3 separate regions of the Homo sapiens genome follow, and all the other regions are linked to region 1. Evidence: promoter capture Hi-C in human tissues and cell types (Jung and others, 2019). All regions are on one chromosome and are shown on one strand. Each heading gives the region's core, a stretch centred on a gene start or on the middle of the fragment in contact. The rest is flanking DNA. Distances are from core to core; before and after follow the strand shown.

Evidence for each region. Contacts are between HindIII fragments. The study calls those that stand out against the background at their distance.
Region 2: a fragment that was not itself captured here is called in contact with the fragment with the promoter of POLL in region 1 in 1 of the 25 tissues and cell types used here (spleen).
Region 3: a contact is called between a fragment that was not itself captured here and the fragment with the promoter of POLL in region 1, in 2 of the 25 tissues and cell types used here (adrenal gland and mesenchymal stem cells).

Annotation. Positions count from the first base shown.
Region 1 is chr10:101,586,909-101,589,737 of GRCh38, reverse strand. It overlaps POLL (DNA polymerase lambda), which reads left to right and starts at 1,481. Exons shown (of 9, transcript NM_001174084.2): 1 at 1,481-1,916; 2 at 2,332-2,492. The coding sequence starts at 2,378. DPCD (deleted in primary ciliary dyskinesia homolog (mouse)) reads right to left here and starts at 1,417. Exons shown (of 6, transcript NM_015448.3): 1 at 1,338-1,417. The coding sequence starts at 1,401. RefSeq lists enhancers at 1,132-1,461, 1,562-1,841. The HindIII fragment of the contact is 10,926 bases long and covers 1-2,829 here.
Region 2 is chr10:101,357,291-101,360,119 of GRCh38, reverse strand. The region is part of intron 1 of BTRC (beta-transducin repeat containing E3 ubiquitin protein ligase); the gene reads right to left. Among named protein-coding and RNA genes, the nearest start is that of BTRC, 4.5 kb to the right of the region's middle. The HindIII fragment of the contact is 4,092 bases long and covers 1-2,829 here.
Region 3 is chr10:101,422,557-101,425,385 of GRCh38, reverse strand. All of the region lies in intron 1 of BTRC (beta-transducin repeat containing E3 ubiquitin protein ligase), which reads right to left. Among named protein-coding and RNA genes, the nearest start is that of BTRC, 70 kb to the right of the region's middle. The HindIII fragment of the contact is 5,073 bases long and covers 1-2,829 here.

The DNA.
Region 1 (2,829 bases), core at 232-2,731:
TAATTTTTTTGTATTTTTAGTAGCGATGGGGTGGTTTCATCATGTTGGCTAGGCTGGTCTCGAACTCCTGGCCTCAAGGGATCCGCCCACTCGGCCTCCCAACATGCTGGGATTACAGGCGTGAACCACCACATCCGGCCATAATTTCCGTATTTTTTGTAGAGATGAGGTTTGGCCATGTTGCCCAAGCTGGTCTCGAACTCCTGAGCTCAAATGATCCGCCCACTTTGGCCTCCCAGAGTGCTGGAATTACGGGCGTGAGCCACTGTGCCTGACCTTATTAATTCTTTAGGACCCAGAAACATCATCACTTCTGTTGGGTCTTCCTCCAAAGAGATGTCACTTACACCTTCACTCTTTCCTACCATTTTATACAAGACTACAACCTCTATTTAACGCTTCTTATTATTTAAGTACATGTTTTTCCCAACCACTCTGAGTCCTGGGACAACATATCTTTTTCTTTCTGTTCTAGTTTAGAGCTTGGCACATAGTAAAAGTCTTCCTAAATGTTGCACGAACGAGTAAATGATTTTAATTTCCACAAACTCCAGGCTTCCCTGATTGGCCCCTGCCTGTGAACATGAGTCACCAGTTGTTATCTTGAAAGCCTCAGGAACTTCAGACGCAATTCATCCTGGCTACCCAGTGGGTCCAGAAAGGACCCAAGTGCACAAAGGGGCCGGCATCGGCCAATCCTAGGGTGGGGAAAAGTTAGGTATCCATGCCCCTGTGCCCACTTCTTCCAGGCACAGCCCTTGGTTCTTGCTCTAGCTCCCCTAAAGACACAGAAAATATTTAGAAGTTCACTTAACAAAAATATTACAGCTGGAAAGGACCTCAGAGATAACAATGGTAGTCCATCCACTTCATTTTATAGATGAGGAAAGTGAGGCCCAAACAAGTAAAGGAGCCGACTGAAGCGCCCGTGGTGAATTAATGGCACAGTCGGAACTAGAGCCCAGGCCTCTCTCCTCTCTAAAGTCTAAAACATTCTTGGATTTCAGTTTCCTCTTCTGTAAAACGGGGTGAAAATTAGCCTCTCAGGACAGTGGTGAGGAGCAAATGAGATAATGAATGTAAAAGAAATTACTATATTAGCAACAGAAATCAGAGCGGAGCGAGATGGTGTAGAGGAATCTAAGGGGTGTCCGGAGACATGTGTTCCAGTCATGTCATCTCTGTGAACCTCAGTCTCCTCATCTGCAAATGCAGGACCTGGCCCGGCTGACCGCCGAGACCCTTCCAGCTCTGCCGACCCAGGCCCTGAGGCCCTTCCCGGAGGGCCGGACCCTGAGGGAAAAAAACGAAGGAGCCCGTGGGGACCCTCGAGTTACCGTCCTGCAGCAGCGCAGTCTTCTGGGCTGTCCGCAGACTCTCCAACCAGCCCGTCACCGCCATCTTTCCCCTGCTAAGCAGCACGCCCAGCCGCTGCCATGGCAACCGTTCCAGAGGGTCACTTCCGGCTGACTCGGAAGCTATTCTGGCCATTTGCCCTCCTTCCCCCCTTCGTCCGCTCTCATTGGCTCTGCTGGTAAGTGGTCTATTCCTGCCCACCCCCGGGTGACTAGCTTGGCCAGTAGTCGACCCCACCCGGGGACCGACTCTGGGGGTTGGAGAGACTCTTGGGGCCGGGGTCGGGCACTCCAGCTTTCTTCTAGCCCCGAGCTGGGATTCCCTGGCCTGCGCCAGCTGCGTACACGGCGAGTACACCGCACCTGCCCGGGACTTCACCCGCAGCTGCGAGACTCCTCCATTCCCGGAGGGCTCCCCACACCTGCTGCGGCCGTGCCCCATCTCCCCGCAGCTGCGGCGCTGAGCACCCCCATGTCGAGAGGCTGAGACCAGGACAGGTGCAGGGCGTTCCCACTCACCCCCGAAAGTCCTCCTCCTTCCTCTGCGAGTCTGTGTTGGAGGTAGAGAAATAGTATGTGGGGTTTATGTGCAGGTCCTCCCCAGGCTCCGCTCCATCCCCTAAAGCTCCATTTCCTAGCCCAGCATCCCATTTGGTAAAGCCCTTCGAAGTGGGCCGCAGCAGGGCTGTGCTGAATCTTTAGCGCAACCCCTCTGAGGAATGGTGTCGTTTCCTACTCCTCAAAAGTACCCCCGATGGCACCAGCCTTCCCCTCATTTCCCGTAATACTCCAACTTCGAAAGGCTGGGGAGTGTGAAGCTAGGCTAAACCACTGAAGTTTAACCGGGTTTGAAGAGACCCCCTCCCCCGACCCGCTTCCCCAAACTGGGCTGCTACCCCCAAAGCCTGGTCAGGAAAGACCCTACCTCCATAGGCAAAGGGGTTGGAGGGCCTCAATTCTGGATTTCCACGTGCAGCAGCCCTGACCAACGCTCCAATAGGCCGGGATCCAGCCATACTTCAATGGATCCCAGGGGTATCTTGAAGGCATTTCCCAAGCGGCAGAAAATTCATGCTGATGCATCATCAAAAGTACTTGCAAAGATTCCTAGGAGGGAAGAGGGAGAAGAAGCAGAAGGTGAGCTGACCCAGTCTCAGAACCCTCGTGTGCTTGAACCCACAGCCTTCATGTGCTTCAGCCCTACGTTGTTTATGTCCAGAATCAGATATTGGAGCTGACTCTGCCTGTCCAGGGCCTGCAGGTCTGTTTGTATCTACCTTGTGCTAAGCTTGGTCCTGGGTCTTGGACAGGCTATTTGCTGTGTTACCTTCTTTTCTACCCGAAGACCTCTATCCATCAGAAAAGACTCCCTGGGCCCTCAGGGAATGACCAGTATAATTTTTGCCCTGAGGACTGGGACAGAAACCCCCCTCCATTACCCAGGCTTGTTGTTAGTTGTTTTGCAGCCAAATTG
Region 2 (2,829 bases), core at 151-2,650, 230 kb after region 1:
TTGCACCACTGTACTCCAGCCTGGGTGACAGAGTGAGACCCTGTCTCAATTAAGTTTTTTTAAAAAAAAGAGATCTCTTTTGAAAGTTTATTTTCTAATTTAGCAATAAATAATTTCTAAAACTACTCAAAGTTGAATTTTTACTCCACATCTAATAATTCACTTTTGATAATTTATGAAAATCTACTATAAACATAAATTTAGAAAATTAGCAAAAAGAGGCCGGACACGGCAGCTCACGCCTGTAATCTCAGCACTTTGGGAGGCCAAGGCGGGCAGATCACCTGAGGTTGGGAGTTCGAGACCAGCCTGACCAACATGGAAAAGCCCTGTCTCTACCAAAAATACAAAATTAGCTGGGTGTGGTGGTGCATGCCTGTAATCCCAGCTACAGGGGAGGCTGAGGAAGGAGAATCACTTGAACCTCAGAAGCAGAGGTTGCAGTGAACTGAGTTTGCACCATTGCACTCCAGCCTGGGCAACAAGACCAAAACTCCATCTCAAAAAAAAAAAAATACAACAAAATTAGCCAGGCAAGGTGGTACACGCCTGTAATTCCAGCTACTTAGGAGGCTGAGGCAGGAGAATCATTTGAACCCAGGAGGCGGAGGTTGCAGTGAACCGAAATTGTGCCACTGCACTCCAGTCTGGGCAACAGAGCGAGACTCAGGGTATCTCAGACAAAAAAAAAGAAAATAGGCAAAAAGAATTACCACTAATTTCATACCCCAACACCTATAAGAGTACCCAGAAAACAAACTGTTTGAAAGCCAATTTAAACTGGGAATAGGTAAAGTATACACAAAAACTCAGACAACTTAAACTAAGAACTAGTTTCAGATGTTCATCCCACTACCTGGTAATCAATTTCACTGATGTAAAGAAAATTCCATTACAGTGAAACATCTGACAATTTATTTTAAAATGTAATCTGTTTAGATACCTCTGTTTCCTGAAGTAAGTAAGCAAGTTTACTTAATCACATTAATTCACCCAGTATTATGTCAACAGTGACATCATTAAGGGAAGTCACGCAGGAGATCATGTTAGTGCCTTCCGAAGTTAACCTCAAAAAAAGAGATGCCTCCTAAACATTCCTAGCATTATGACCCACAAACTTGGCCGATACCATTTTTATTTTTAGCCTTAACATCCAACTAGCATAGCACCTACGGTAGCAAGTCTCAAAAGGTGGCCCCCAGCAATTCCCCCTTCCTTGTTTATGCACGCCACCCTTCCTATCAATAGGTAGACATTATTTCTCCTCCCTCTGTAGTTGGCCTTGACTGGCTTTGACCCACAGTGACATTCTTGGACTTCCAAATCTAGGATTTAGAAGACTGGCAGTCTCTACCTCCTGTCTCCTGGAATGTCCCTTCTTAGAACCTTGCCACCACACTTTAAGGAAATCCAAGCAGCCAGGTAGAGAAAGGCCCATATAGAGGAGAAGTGAAGGTCTTTCCCACACCTCAGCCAATACCAAGTGAAGCAGAAAAACCATCAGATTTGAGGGGAAAAATAATTGTTTTTTTTAAGCTAAGTTTTGAGGTTGTCTGTTAAACAGCAAATATTTACCCTTTATACTGTTTCATTTATCTATCAGCTCTATAAATAAAACAATACATTCTAAAATTATTTCATCTATTTCAAGCTACTGTACTTGATTCTGGGATTGGCTGGACAAGAATATATTTATCCTGTTTTTAAAAATAAACGTGGCTTGGCAAGGTGGCTCACGCCTGTAATCCCAACAATGGGAGGCCAAGGCAGGAGGACCCCTTGAGCCCAGGAGTTCAAAAACCACCCCTGTCAACAAAGGGCGACCCTTGTCTCTACAAAAACAAAAAAGAAAAAAAAAATAGCCAGCATAGTGGTGTGTGCCTGTAGCCACTTGAGACGCCGAGGCAGGAGGATCATGTGAGCCTGGGAGTTTGAGGCTGCAGCAAGCTATGACTGCACTCTAGCCTGGGCAACATAGTGAGACCCTGTCTCAAAGGTGAAAACAAAAATAAAGTTCAAATTCCTCCTCAGTATGTCTTTTCAACCCCTATCTTAAACGTGCTTGTGTGTGTGTGTTTGTGTGTTTTGGGGTCTATATTCCCTCAATCATTTTCATTTCTCTTCTTAGGTTCTCTTCAAGTTTCCATTTATACTTTTGTTAACCAAAAAAGTATTAAGAAAGGTCCTTGAGGACCTGCTAAAGCTGAATGAGAGACATTAGCACGTAAGTTAATGTAAACCGTTGCTTTCAATATCATTTATTTGTTTTTAAAAGTTAAACATTCTGCTTAAACTTTTTTCACAAGTAAAACAATAAGCTTTAAGTCTCGATCACGTGTGAATTATGGTCATCTCTGAATCAGCAGTCTTATTAACAGGATTTTATTGTAAAATTCTTTATCAAGGCACTTTAGTATAGCAATGAGCAAATTTGTGAGAGTATCCATTTCATTCTGGCATTTTAAACTAATTTTACATTTGTTTAAACCATGGAAATCATGACATCTGTATAAAAGTTGTCATTAGCGATTCACAATTGAGGGAAAGGTTAAGACCAGAACAAAGCCAAATAGTAATAAAAATGCCCGTTTGATTAAAAGGATAGTTCTTCCATGTGTACTGTGCACTAATTATTTGATGCTAGCTCAAATAGCTTCCTTTTTTTTTTTTTTTTTTTTTGAGACAGAGTCTCGCTCTGTCACCCAGGCTGGAGTGTAATGGCACGATCTCAGCTCACTGCAACCTCCACCTCCTGGGTTCAAGTGATTCTACTGCCTCAGCCTCCCGAGTAGCTGGGACTACAGGTGCGCGCCACCAGGCCTGGCTAAT
Region 3 (2,829 bases), core at 203-2,702, 160 kb after region 1:
TTGAAGAGTATAACAATGTATTATAATTGTTGTTATCCAACTGAATGACTTCACTAGCCTTTAAAAAGCATACACAGCACAGAAAAAAATAAGACTGAACATGTTTTCTACTACCTGAATCAGAAAAAAAATTGAAATGCTGCAATGCGATAGTAAAGACACAGAATCAACCCAGGTACCCATCAACGGAAGACTGGATAAAGAAAATGCAGTACACATATACCATGGAATACTAAGTAGCCATAAAAAATAATGAAATCATGTCCTCTGCAGAACATGGATGCAGCTAGAAGCCATTATCCTAAGCGAACTAATGCAGAAACAGAAAACCAAATGCCACATTTTCTCACTTATACATAGGAACAAAACCTTGAGTACACATGGACATAAAGAAGGGAACAGACACTGAGGAATACAAAAGGTGGGAGGACAAAGGGGGTAAAGCTTGAAAAAACTACCTATGGGTACTTTGCACTCTCTACCTGGGTGAGATTCACTCAGACTCCAAACCTCAGCATCGTGCAGTATATCTCTGTAACAAACCTGCACATATACCCCAATTTTAAAATAAAAGTTGAAAAAACAAGATTGCAATGAAGGGCCTCCAGTGCTTCAAGAAGAATATAGTATCTAGTGCCCATCAGGTTCAATGGCACAATTCATTTACACAGAGAACACTGAAAATCTCAACTCTTCCCCCTACACTTGGCTGTCTGGAGTAATGTCACAGATCCTCTTCACTGATAGCCCTGCAGGCAAAGGGCTAGCCTCAGCATTTACTATACGAAAGCTGAATGACAAAATCTCCTAAATTAAGGTCCCTGTTGGTCAACTTCTAGGAGTAACAGAAGCTATAATAATCAACAATAAAAAGATTGCTGTACTGAGAGTTTACGTATCCTTAAGCCATGGAATAGAAGAATTCCCTTTTCACTACTATATCAACTAAGAAATTCAGAGAAATGCAGTATACCATAATCATGTAATACATTCAGACTTTACCTACAAATCCAATGATTGCCTCTTAAGAATCCCAATTTAGTTCACTCCAAAAACAAAACTCCCACCTGTCAGATAGGATAATCATATCTGCCCAGCCTTATTGCACAAGGTTGTGGTAAAACTAAAACAAGGATTCTTTTTTTTTCTTTGAGACAGAGTTTTACTTTTGTTGCCCAGGTTGGAGTGCAATGCCATGATCTCGGCTCACTGCAACCTCCGCCTCCCAGGTTCAAGTGATTTTCCTGACTAAGCCTCCTGAGTAGCTGGGACTGCCGGCATGCACCACCACGCCTGACTAATTTTTGTATTTTTGGTAGAGACAGGCAGGGTTTCTCCATGTTAGCCAGGCTGGTCTCGAACTCCTGAACTCAGGTGATCCACCTGCCTTGGCCTCCCAAAGTGCTGGGATTACAGGCACGAGCCACCTCACCCGGCTAAAATAAGGATTCTAAAAGCTGCAAAGTGCAAAAGAAAAAAATATAAATGGCATCATCACCAGGAATAGGCTTCTGTGAATGCCACTTGCATTTCAAACTGTTCTGGGAAGCCATTTATTTTTTCATTACCAAAGTGGGCACAGGTGGAGTACAAAAAGAGGATAAGTAAAGTTTACCGGGAATAAACTGTCTGCCAGGCATTGTACTAGATCCCTTAAGTACATTATTTCATTTAAGCATTACCTTCTTGTCAAAGAATTATTAGTACTTTTGCCTTAACAAGAGAGTACACTCAAGTTCAGTGAAGTTATAGTGCCTAAATGACAATGGCAGAAATAATACTCAAATGTGTTTGTCTCCACAAATCCACAGACTCAAGTAGTTTACACTCTATTTCAAGGAGATAAACTACTAACAAATAGTAACTACAAGAAAAAATTTAACAATGTACTAAATTGCATTAGACAACAGCTACTATAAGTTTAGGTAAATTTTCAAATATTTAGAAAAGCTCAGTCACAGACTTTAATTTTATTGTAGCACTTGTTACTATATGTATAACAAACTAACAAGCTGCATCTGTATAACATTCTCTGTATAACAAACTAACAAGCTTTGTTAGTTAGCTTTGTCAGTCTAACAATTCATTGTTTGGCAATGAATTGCGGAACAAGCTCTTCCCCAATTCATTCACCTGTATAATAAACTAGTAAGGTAAATAAGACCCAGAGAGGGTCAGGCAAGGTGGCTCATGTGTATAATCCCACCACTTTGGGAGGCCAAGGTGGGAGGACTGCTTGAGACCAGGAGTTCAAGACCAGCCTGGTCAACATAACTAGACCCCATCTCTATTTTTATGAAAAACTGGAAAATAAAAAAAATTTAACTTAATTAAAAAAAACTCATGGATAGGAAGAATCAATATCAATACCAATGACTTTCTTCACAGAATTGGAAAAAACTACTTTAAAGTTCATATGGAACCAAAAAAGAGCCCGCATTGCCAAGTCAATCCTAAGCCAAAAGAACAAAGCTGGAGGCATCATGCTACCTGACTTCAAACTATACTACAAGGCAACAGTAACCAAAACGGCATGGTACTGGTACCAAAACAGAGATATAGACCAATGGAACAGAACAGAGCCCTCAGAAATAATAACACACATCTACAACTATCTGATCTTTGACAAACCTGACAAAAACAAGAAATGGGGAAAGGATTCCCTATTTAATAAATGGTGCTGGGAAAACTGGCTAGCCATATATAGAAAGCTGAAACTGGATCTCTTCCTTACACCTTACACAAAAATTAATTCAAGGTGGAGTAAAGACTTAAATGTTAGACCTAAAACCATAAAAACCCTAGAAGAAAACCTAGGCAATACCATTC